Regions from separate parts of the Homo sapiens genome. Here region 1 is linked to region 2. Evidence: promoter capture Hi-C in human tissues and cell types (Jung and others, 2019). All regions are on one chromosome and are shown on one strand. The core of a region is centred on a gene start or on the middle of the fragment in contact, and the rest is flanking DNA. Distances in the headings are between cores, read along the strand shown. Region 1 overlaps RBMS2 (RNA binding motif single stranded interacting protein 2). Region 2 holds the start of ANKRD52 (ankyrin repeat domain 52).

Region 1 (4,611 bases), core at 696-3,195, 330 kb before region 2:
TATCAGATGAACAGAATTCTAGATTTGTTTTCTCTTTCTCTCAAAGGCCACTGACAAGAAAGCAGCTATGGTATATTTTCCTTGACTGAGGGCTGGAGACTCAAAAACAAAAGCTATCTGCCCAGCCAGAGCCCTCTAGAAGGTTGCTGGGCTTGGGGCTATTTTACACTGGATAAGCCCTTCCTGAGTTTGGAAGCATCAATTAGAAGACTGCGGCAATTTGTCCTTTACGCTTTATATCCTACCCATTGCCCCGCACTCCCTCACCCCTAGGATGTACATAGAAAGTCGACACTAGGGGCACTGGGACTCTCAATTCTAGGGTGGCTGGGAAGGGAGGGAAAGCTGGGCCGAGCTCTACTTGTGACAACTGATACTACAGTTTCTTTTCCCCTGCTGTCACCCCCTTCCTCTCCCTATGGCCAGCCTAATGAACACCTGTCTCTCTATCCTCCATTATTTGCCTTTGTCTGACTGTCTAGTGGAGAGGCACCTGGCCTTGAAGTGCAAGGGAGTCAAATTCTCCTTTCAGTGCATAAGGGAGTGACTGGGAGAAGACAAGAGCAGGATTTTATTTCCTAGAAGATGGGTGAAGTCTTTCTTCAATCTGTCTCCATGTGTATAGAGTCACATCTTGCAGAAGGGGACAGTTAAAGACCAAGACATAGGCTTTTTTAAAGGACTCCTGACCTCATAAAGAGTTGGAATTTATTGCTCTTTGCTACCCTAGCTCCCCGTTGTCCTTCCACAGAAGGAACATTATTTCTGATGTCCTGGTTCCCTGGGCAAAGGGTCCAAGCACACCGGGGCAGGGCAGGTTGCTCTGGACAGTTTAGAGAGCTTTGTCCTTTCCCACCATTGCACAGCACACACCAGAACAATGCCCACCTGAATCCCTCTGAGTACATGTGTGCATTCAGCATGGAGCCACAGCTCTTTCAAGAATCACTCTTGCTATATGCAGAGTTATCAAAAGTCAAAGTCTGGGGAGAATTCAAGGATCCCAGTCCAGTCCTTCCCCAACAGTTGCATGAGTGTCAAAAGGCACTGTTTGTCCAGGGTTGGGGTGAAAATTTACCCTAACCCAGGAGGCAGGGACAACACTGTCTATATCAGTGTTTCCCAGTCTTGGCAATATTGACCCCTGGAGTCAGATAATTCTTGGCTGGGGGTAGTGGGGACTATCCTATGCAGTGTAGGATGTTTAGCAGCCACTAGATGCCAGTAGCACACACATCCCACCTCCAGGCGTGGCAATCAAAACTGTCTCTAGATGTTGCCAAAGGCCTGAGGGACAAAACCACCTCTGATTGAGAACTCCTGGTCTGTGAGTGAAGCAGCAGATCTTCCACCGTGTGGAAGGAGCCTATGTGGATTCAACTAGGTCGCAGCTGCAAAGGCTCTGAGCACAGCAATGTGTAACAGGGAAGAGAGGGGCCATGAAGCCCAGGACAGAAAATATCCTCCAGGAGGCAAGAAAGCAGGTACTCCCAAAAAGCTATACCTCAGATGCTGTTGGCCTTGGCAGTGAGAAGAGTTGATAAAAGTCAGTAAGTCCATTCTTCCGGAACTTGCCAGGGAAGACCTAGTCTTCAACCAAGTTTGGCTCAAGGGTGTGTTCCCAGGGCTGTGGAGTTGTCTCTTTAGTAAGCCTGGGTCACATCTGTGCTTTCTGAAGCCAAAGTCTAGTTTTTTCTCCCAGGGTGTGGCAGGGTGGGGGAAAGAACAGCCACTTCCATGGCCTACTTAGTGTTCTGCCTTGTTCCTTGCCCAGCCTGCCCCCCAACCCCAAATTCCACATGAAATTTCATTTTTAAAAATCCATAAAATTAAAAGCTGTAAAAGGGCAAAGTAGGCAGGCTCAGCTGTTTAGAAAAGAGAAAAAGAAGAATCTGGACAAGAGAAAGAAGGCATAATATGGGTGAAGAGGAGATGGGGTGCATGAGCTGAGAGCTTTACAAAATAACATTTTTAGAGCCTGCATACTTTTTAAAACACATACACACATGCATCAAAAAAGTCCATAACTAAGCTCAGTAAGTAGGGCTCCTTCATCGATGTTCCAGCACCACACCTTTCTGTTCTGTTTTGGTTTGTAAAGAAATAATTACAAATTGTTTTAAAAGCATTCCCAAATAATTCCAATACATCGAAAACTTTTTCATATAGATGAGAAGCTGCGACCACCATGTCTCTTCAAGGTAGGGGAAAAGTACGTTGCAGTTAAAAACAAAAAGCTTTCTTTGCAAAAGAAGAAAAGTTTTTTTGATCTCCTTGAATGTAGCACACAAAAAAAGTGATGGTTCCCCCAGGCTCCATCAGCAATAGTAAAGGGCAGGAACGTAGAGATTTCTTTTTCCAGGCCCAGGCCTGTGAAAAACGATGGCTAAGTGTTAGTCCTTAGCAGGGCCGACGGATGGTCTCCATTCCTGGTTAACCCTCTGGAATCTGGGAGCATGAGTATCTCCAAGAATTCATTTCTATTCAGTAAAGATGGGGAGGGGAATCCTAAAGAAGGCACAAGCCAGAGAGGAGACAAGACAAACATGAGAACCTGTCTGACTTCAGGCCGGGCTGAGCTGCTGTCTGCCAGTGCAGCCCTCCCTGCCCCCCAGCATGTGGTTCTTACCCACTGTTACTTGTTGAACTGGAAAGAATAGACCCCATGCTCTGAGGGTGCGTCCACTGCCACTTGGTTCTGTTGGCCGCTGCTCTCCTGTGCCATAGCCAAGGAGGGGGGTCATCTTGCGCATTCCTTTCCTCACCTCCACTACAGCAGCCTGACCAAAGCCCACCCTACATCGAGTGCCCTCCCAAACCTACCCACTCTCCACACTCATGTGTGAGTGTTTCCACCCACACCACCACTTCCCCAACCTTCCTACAGCCTGTCCTCTTCCCAAGACGCATTAGTCAATACAAGCCAGCATCCTGGTGTCAACTACTGGCTGGCCAAATGTAAGGAAGGGCCTCATTCATGAACTCAGACCAAGTCCTTCTTTCCTACATCTGCTGTTGTTTTTTTTTTAAATATGGAACGCTTCACAAATTTGCATGTCATCCTTGCACAGGGGCCATAATCTTCTCTGTATTGTTCCAATTTTAGTATGCATGCTGCCGAAGCGAGCACATCCTTCCTACGTTCTTCGTATACCTACCAGCTATTTGTGAACACAGAATCAGCATCATTGTGAGAGAAAGATCTTGATCAGGGGGAAACCTGCCTCCGTTCATTTTCCTAATCTCAATCCAAAGAAATGATAACACCCTTACCTCGACTGAAACACTGGAAGAAGGCACAGGGGTGTACTGGGAGATGTAAGCTCCTTGCATAGCTGCAGCCGTCGGCATATACTAGAAAGAGAAACATCAACAGGCTTACAGCAGTGATTTTTGGCTACATTTGAAGCAGCTGAGGGGCTTTAAAAAAAATACTGACACCTGTATTCTACCCCAGAGATTCTATTTTAATTGGTCTGAGCATTTGCATCTTAAAAGCACTTCAGGTGGTTCTAAAGTACACTGTTAGGGAGACGTCTCCCTATATGACTTATTTTCCTCCTCTTTCCTGACTTTCTTCTGCTTTTCCTCAACACACTCCCTTCTCTACCCTTGAGCCCTTTCTATGCAAAAAGGAATGCAGTAGGCCTAAAAGAAACCTAATGAGCTTCCTCCATCCTTCCAGGTACTATTTTGATGAGGATTCCTAGGACGTGTGTGTATCTTAAACTAATATGCAGACAGAAGCACTATTCACAAGGTGCATGAGTAGGAATCAGTTAAAAGGGGTGGGCTGGGGAGCAGAATGGCTGTATTCCTGGCTCATGGAGCACTACCATTGTAGTTTATGTCCTGTTCTGAGTGTGCCCCGGATGACACTGAAGTAATTCCATCATTATTCATAAGTTACTTACGCTGAAGAGTATTACACAGGTATGCCTTGCTCAGTAGGAGAGTTTACAATCAGAAATATCCTGCTTTACCGTGCCTGTGCTGCTGAGGGAGAGATGGCCCAGTTGCTGGGTAAGGGGTCCCATCATGGAGGCAGGCTGGAGAGAAATGGGATGGTCCATCCCTGGTGTCAGAACTGAACCCTAGAGGCAGCAACAAAGGACAGGGTTAGCTGCAGCATCCTGTGAGGCTGCCTAAAGCAGTGATCGGTGGCTGTCAGGACCACTGGAGACAGACATTTAAGAATCCTGGGAAATGGTAAGTGAGCAGCAACCCAACTATGCAACAAGAATAGGAACTCTGCCTGTCAGTGTGGAAGGACCCTCGTCTAAGAATAACAAGCTTAGGTCTTACTGCTGGGTTGCACAAGGGTCTGAGCCAGAACTCACACCCACATCTCCTGGCATCAAAGGCCTTTTTTTTTTTTTTGAGACGGAGTTTCACTCTTATTGCCCAGACTGGAGTGCAATGGCACGATCTCAGCTCACTGCAACCTCTGCCTCCCGAATTTAAGCAATTCTCCTGTATCAGCCTCCTGAGTAGCTGGGATTACAGGCACCCGCCACTACACCTGGCTAATTTTTGGCATTTTTAGTAGAGACAGGGTTTTGTCATGTTGGCCAGGCTGGTCTCGAACTCCTGACCTCAGGTGATTTGCCT
Region 2 (4,484 bases), core at 824-3,323:
GAAGAGGTAAGTTTAAATTTCTTCATAATTTTTGTGTGTGCATGGAATCACGGAGTGATTGCTCCTAAGCAATATTTTAACTTTTATTTTCAATATGGTAAAAATTTAAAAAATTCCAAAAGGTATATAGTGATAGGTAAATTTCTCTCTCATTCCTTATTTCCTGTACCCCAGTTTTTCTTTCTGGGAAAAAAGGACTGTTACTAGTGTCTTAAGTATCTTTCTAGCAGGAAAGCAAGGGAAGGCTTTTTTTTTTTTTTTTTTTTTTTGACATGGAGTCTGGCTCTGTCACCCAGGCTGGAGAGCAGTGGCTCCATCTCGGCTCACTGCAACCTCCGCCTCCTTGGTTCAAGTGATTCTCCTGCCTCAGCCTCTCCAGTAGCTGGGATTACAGGCGTGCACCACCACACCAGGCTACTTTTTTATATTTTTGGTAGAGATGGGGTTTCACCATGTTGGGAATGGGAAGGCTTTTTTTTTTTTTTTTTTTTTTTTTTTTTGAGACGGAGTCTCGCTCTGTCGCCCAGGCTGGAGTGCAGTGGCGCAATCTCGGCTCACTGCAAGCTCCACCTCCCGGGTTCACGCCATTCTCCTGCCTCAGCCTCCCAAGCAGCTGGGACTACAGGCGCCCGCCACCCTGCCCGGCTGATTTTTGTATTTTAGTAGAGACGGGGTTTCGCTGTGTTAGCCAGGATGGTCTCGATCTCCTGACCTCGTGATCCACCCGCCTCGGACTCCCAAAGTGCTGGGATTACAGGCGTGAGCCACCGCGCCCGGCCGGGAAGGCTTTTTTGAAATGTATTTTCGCCGGGTGCGGTGGCTCACGCCGGTAATCCCAGCTCTTTGGGATGCCGTGGCAGGTGGATCACCTGAGGTCAGGAGTTCGAGACCAGCCTGACCAACATGGTGAAACCCCCGTCTCTACTAAAATAAAAAATTAGCCGGGCAGGGTGGCGGGCGCCTGTAGTCTCAGCTACTTGGTAGTCTGAGACAGGATAATCACTGAACCCGGGAGGCGGAGGTTGCAGTGAGCCGAGATCGTGCCACTGCACTCCAGCCTGGGGGACGAGAGTGAAACTCCATCTCAAAAAATAAAATAAAATGTATTTTTATTTTTTAATTTTTTTCCTCTCCCCTCAAGGGAGGATTTTTATATATAAAGCCTTGACAGGACGCCAGCATGCTGCACTTCGTCCATTTCGTGTTCTCTTCAATGTGTATTGAGTTGTGAAACTCTGAACAGGACCCTGGATCACCTTTTATAAATTGTATCAATTTTTCAATCTCCACTTTTCGTCTTCCTCCTTTTTCCGTTTCTGGGTTGAGATGACCTCCATTCATTTCTTCTCTAATTGACGGCTCTCTGGCCTCTCCATTGGAGGAGGGGAAGCGCCACAGGCTGTTCTGGGGAGAAATTGTTGAGTGTTTTCCACTTTAACCTTGCAATGGAATCAGTAAGGAGTTGGAAAATGCCCCTTCTGTTGGTCTTGGCGGCCTTTTCCAGCTGCCAGTTGTCATGGCCTCTTTGTGGGTGTTTTCTGCAGTAGAATCCTCCTTGGGGTTTCTCTGCAGTTTGAGCACTTTTGCTATTTCTTCTCTACCGAACTCACGCCTCCGCCAGTGGAGATACACGCTTTCCCTCCCTCTGGGGCTATTGCCATACATAATTCCCAGTTCTCCACCCGCCAGTTCCTCCTAGTCTGTGGGGGATTTCGGGGTGTGGAATCGCTGACGGGAGGAGTTAGCTCGGGCGGGAGCATTGTGGGCTGGGTAAGATCTGGCCAGCCGTTCGGTCCTCAGTTTGGGAAGCACCGCGGGACTAAGGCCCAGGTTTCCGCTAGGGTCTTGTGGGGAACCCCTTGGGCCGCCAGACTGGAGCGGAGAGCACAGCGCGGCCAGCTGCGTGAGCCGGGGAGCCGGCGCGCGAGTTCGGGGGTGCAGGGGCTGCTGGGGCCGCCAGGGTGGGGCGGAGGGCGCTGCGGCCGGGGTCCGTTTGCGCGGGGAGCGCCGGGACCAGGACGGCCGCCAGGGAGCGCTGCGGCCTCCAACTCGCCCGCCCCCCGGTAGGCGGGGCCGCGCTCTCCCTGCAGCCGCCACCGCAGCCGCCGCCTGGGCCGCTCCGTGTCCCCGGTGGAGCCGCCGCCGCCGCCGCCGGGAGCTCGATGCGGACGGAGCCCGGGCCGAGCCATGGGGATCCTCAGCATCACGGACCAGGTCAGCCCTCCTGCCCTTTCCCGCTTCCTCCTTCCAGGGCTCGGCGCTGCCGTCACGCGAGCCCGGGGATGTGCGGCCTAGGCTGGGCCTGAGCCCGGGGCTCCCGCAGCTCCCGCCCCGCCCCATGCCGCGCTCCCCTCAACCGAGCCGGTGTCCTTGGGGACCTGGCAACCGGCGGAGGCACCGCGGGAGCTCGCTCCAGCCAGAATCCCTAGAGTGGAGCCCCTCCACGGACGCCCCCCACTCAAACCTAGGTGCTCCCCCACCCCCACCCCCACACCGGTTCCGCTCCGGCTCCAGCCCGCTCTCAGAATGCCGGTTCTCTCTGCAGCCGCCCCTGGTCCAGGCCATCTTTAGCCGAGATGTGGAGGAAGTGCGTTCCCTACTCTCGCAGAAGGAGAACATCAATGTGCTGGTGAGTTGGGAGCAGGGAGGATGGCGAGACCGGAATCCTGGCTCCCGTGTTCTGGACCCCTCCCCACCGGTGGGGCGGCTCCGTGTCTCCTCTGCTCAGATGAGGCCGCAGTTCTTTCCATCCTGGAGTGAAAGCCTACTCTGCATTTGGGGATGGAGAGCAGGTCAGGCTTGAAGCCCAGATCACTTGGGCTGGGAATGCCCAGGAACGTTGTTCTCTTCTCAACCTCCGGAGTCTGCAGCGCCCCCACCCCTCCTGGAAAAAGGAGCCGGCTTCTCAGCCCATTGGCCCTGACTCCACCCTCCCTAGGTGCTTGCCTTTGACTCCCAATACCGGGACTTAGGACGCTGCAGAAACTATGGGAAGAGGTTGTGGGGAAGGGCCTGGAGCTCTGAGACTTGGGCTGGGGTCCTTGATAGCCCCCTTACCCCGCGCCCATACTCCCTGCTCTTTTTTGCCTTCCCAGGACCAAGAGAGGCGAACTCCATTGCATGCTGCTGCCTACGTAGGCGATGTCCCCATCCTCCAGTTGCTACTGATGTCAGGTGAAAGTGGGGAGCTGGAAGGTGTGGCACATAGGGAGCGAAGGGAGGGGAGGAGTCTTTTTTGATATTCAAGGATTGCTCTCCCCGGCTTGGTCCAGGCGAGGCTCCAGCTCCATTCAGATTTCCTGGCCTGATTACTGGCTTCCTTCATACCTCCTCCCCACCTTCCATCAAAATAGGAAATTATATCCCCACAGGTGCTAATGTCAATGCTAAGGACACACTGTGGCTGACCCCTCTTCATCGTGCTGCTGCCTCCCGAAACGAGGTATGCACCCCCACCTTCTATTACCCTTTCAAAAAGGATAAGTTGCTTAAAGGTGGGGGTTAAGGGTTAAGGAGCCTCAGTCCTCAGCCCTACAAGCTGTTCTACCCCAGGTAGTGAGGAGATCAAATCTTGGCCCCTTCCTCCTACCCCTAGAACTGGCCAGTAAGGGGGTTGAGTGCTGCCAGCTGATGTGACTCAGGAAGAGCTTAACACTGGGCTGGCAGACTGCGGGGGCCCTGCTGCCAGGCCTGAGTGACTCATCCCTCCCTGGGGGGCCACCTTGAGTCTGATCCCCCTCTGGGCACTGAGATTTCTTTTCCTTGTGATGGAGGATGGGTATAGTAATCTGTTGCATCCTTGGCCCTCAAGCAGCTTGAAAGTTGACAGCACAGGGGCCAAACATATTTCATCAGTTGGGTCCTTTATCCTATTCCCATCAGCCCTGAAGACAGGGAAAGGGGGACCTCCTCCTCAGTTCATCACTTCCCTGGCTCCAGCCACCAGGGGGAGGGGCCGAGGCCAGTGGGAATGAGGTGGGTGGTGGTTAGGAGGGGCATTTTAGCTCGGGTTTTGCAAACGAACCAGTATCTGTTTGCTTACTGAGATACTGAAAATAATTTTGGTGCCTATGAGAAGGCTAAAGAGGGTGTTCAGGGCAAGATGTAGCAAGAGCATTTAGTTTTCCTAGAAGTAGTAGGGGGTTGGGATGTGTGGATCTCCACATGTGGATTTGTTTGGGAATGGATGTATGTGTGAGTGAAGATTTTCAGGGTCTAAGTTGGCGAGTCAGGTGGCTTGAAGAAGAGCAAAGGGTCCTTGTTTTAATCAGCAAGGTAAGGAAGAGCTTAAGTTCTAAGAAGATCCAGAAGATGGAAAGTAGGTATTCAGAGGCTAGGTATGTTGGAAAAATGAGAAGAGATTCTGTGCTGGGGAAGGGGCTGTAGATGCTATGCTGACCTATTCCTCCTTCCATTTCCTGTTGTTTTACCTCCTGCTCCCACTCTCTCTTTTGTCCCCTGCCCCTCAACAGAAGGTGCTGGGG

What was found. The method cuts DNA at HindIII sites, captures the fragments that hold promoters and counts their contacts. A contact is called where the count stands out against the background at its distance.
Region 1: a contact is called between a fragment that was not itself captured here and the fragment with the promoter of ANKRD52 in region 2, in 3 of the 25 tissues and cell types used here (aorta, dorsolateral prefrontal cortex and lymphoblastoid cells).

Annotation. Positions count from the first base shown.
Region 1 is chr12:56,587,037-56,591,647 of GRCh38, reverse strand. It overlaps RBMS2 (RNA binding motif single stranded interacting protein 2), which reads right to left. Exons shown (of 14, transcript NM_002898.4): 11 at 3,984-4,094; 12 at 3,274-3,354; 13 at 2,630-2,716; 14 at 1-2,508. The coding sequence ends at 2,636. It also overlaps the pseudogene RNU6-343P. Among named protein-coding and RNA genes, the nearest start is that of BAZ2A, 41 kb to the left of the region's middle. The HindIII fragment of the contact is 7,330 bases long and covers 1-4,611 here.
Region 2 is chr12:56,255,973-56,260,456 of GRCh38, reverse strand. It overlaps ANKRD52 (ankyrin repeat domain 52), which reads left to right and starts at 2,073. Exons shown (of 28, transcript NM_173595.4): 1 at 2,073-2,214; 2 at 2,546-2,629; 3 at 3,096-3,174; 4 at 3,372-3,442; 5 at 4,473-4,484. The coding sequence starts at 2,188. RefSeq lists silencers at 1,815-1,874, 1,885-2,434, 2,455-2,524 and enhancers at 2,585-2,634, 2,715-2,764, 3,071-4,063. The HindIII fragment of the contact is 23,354 bases long and covers 1-4,484 here.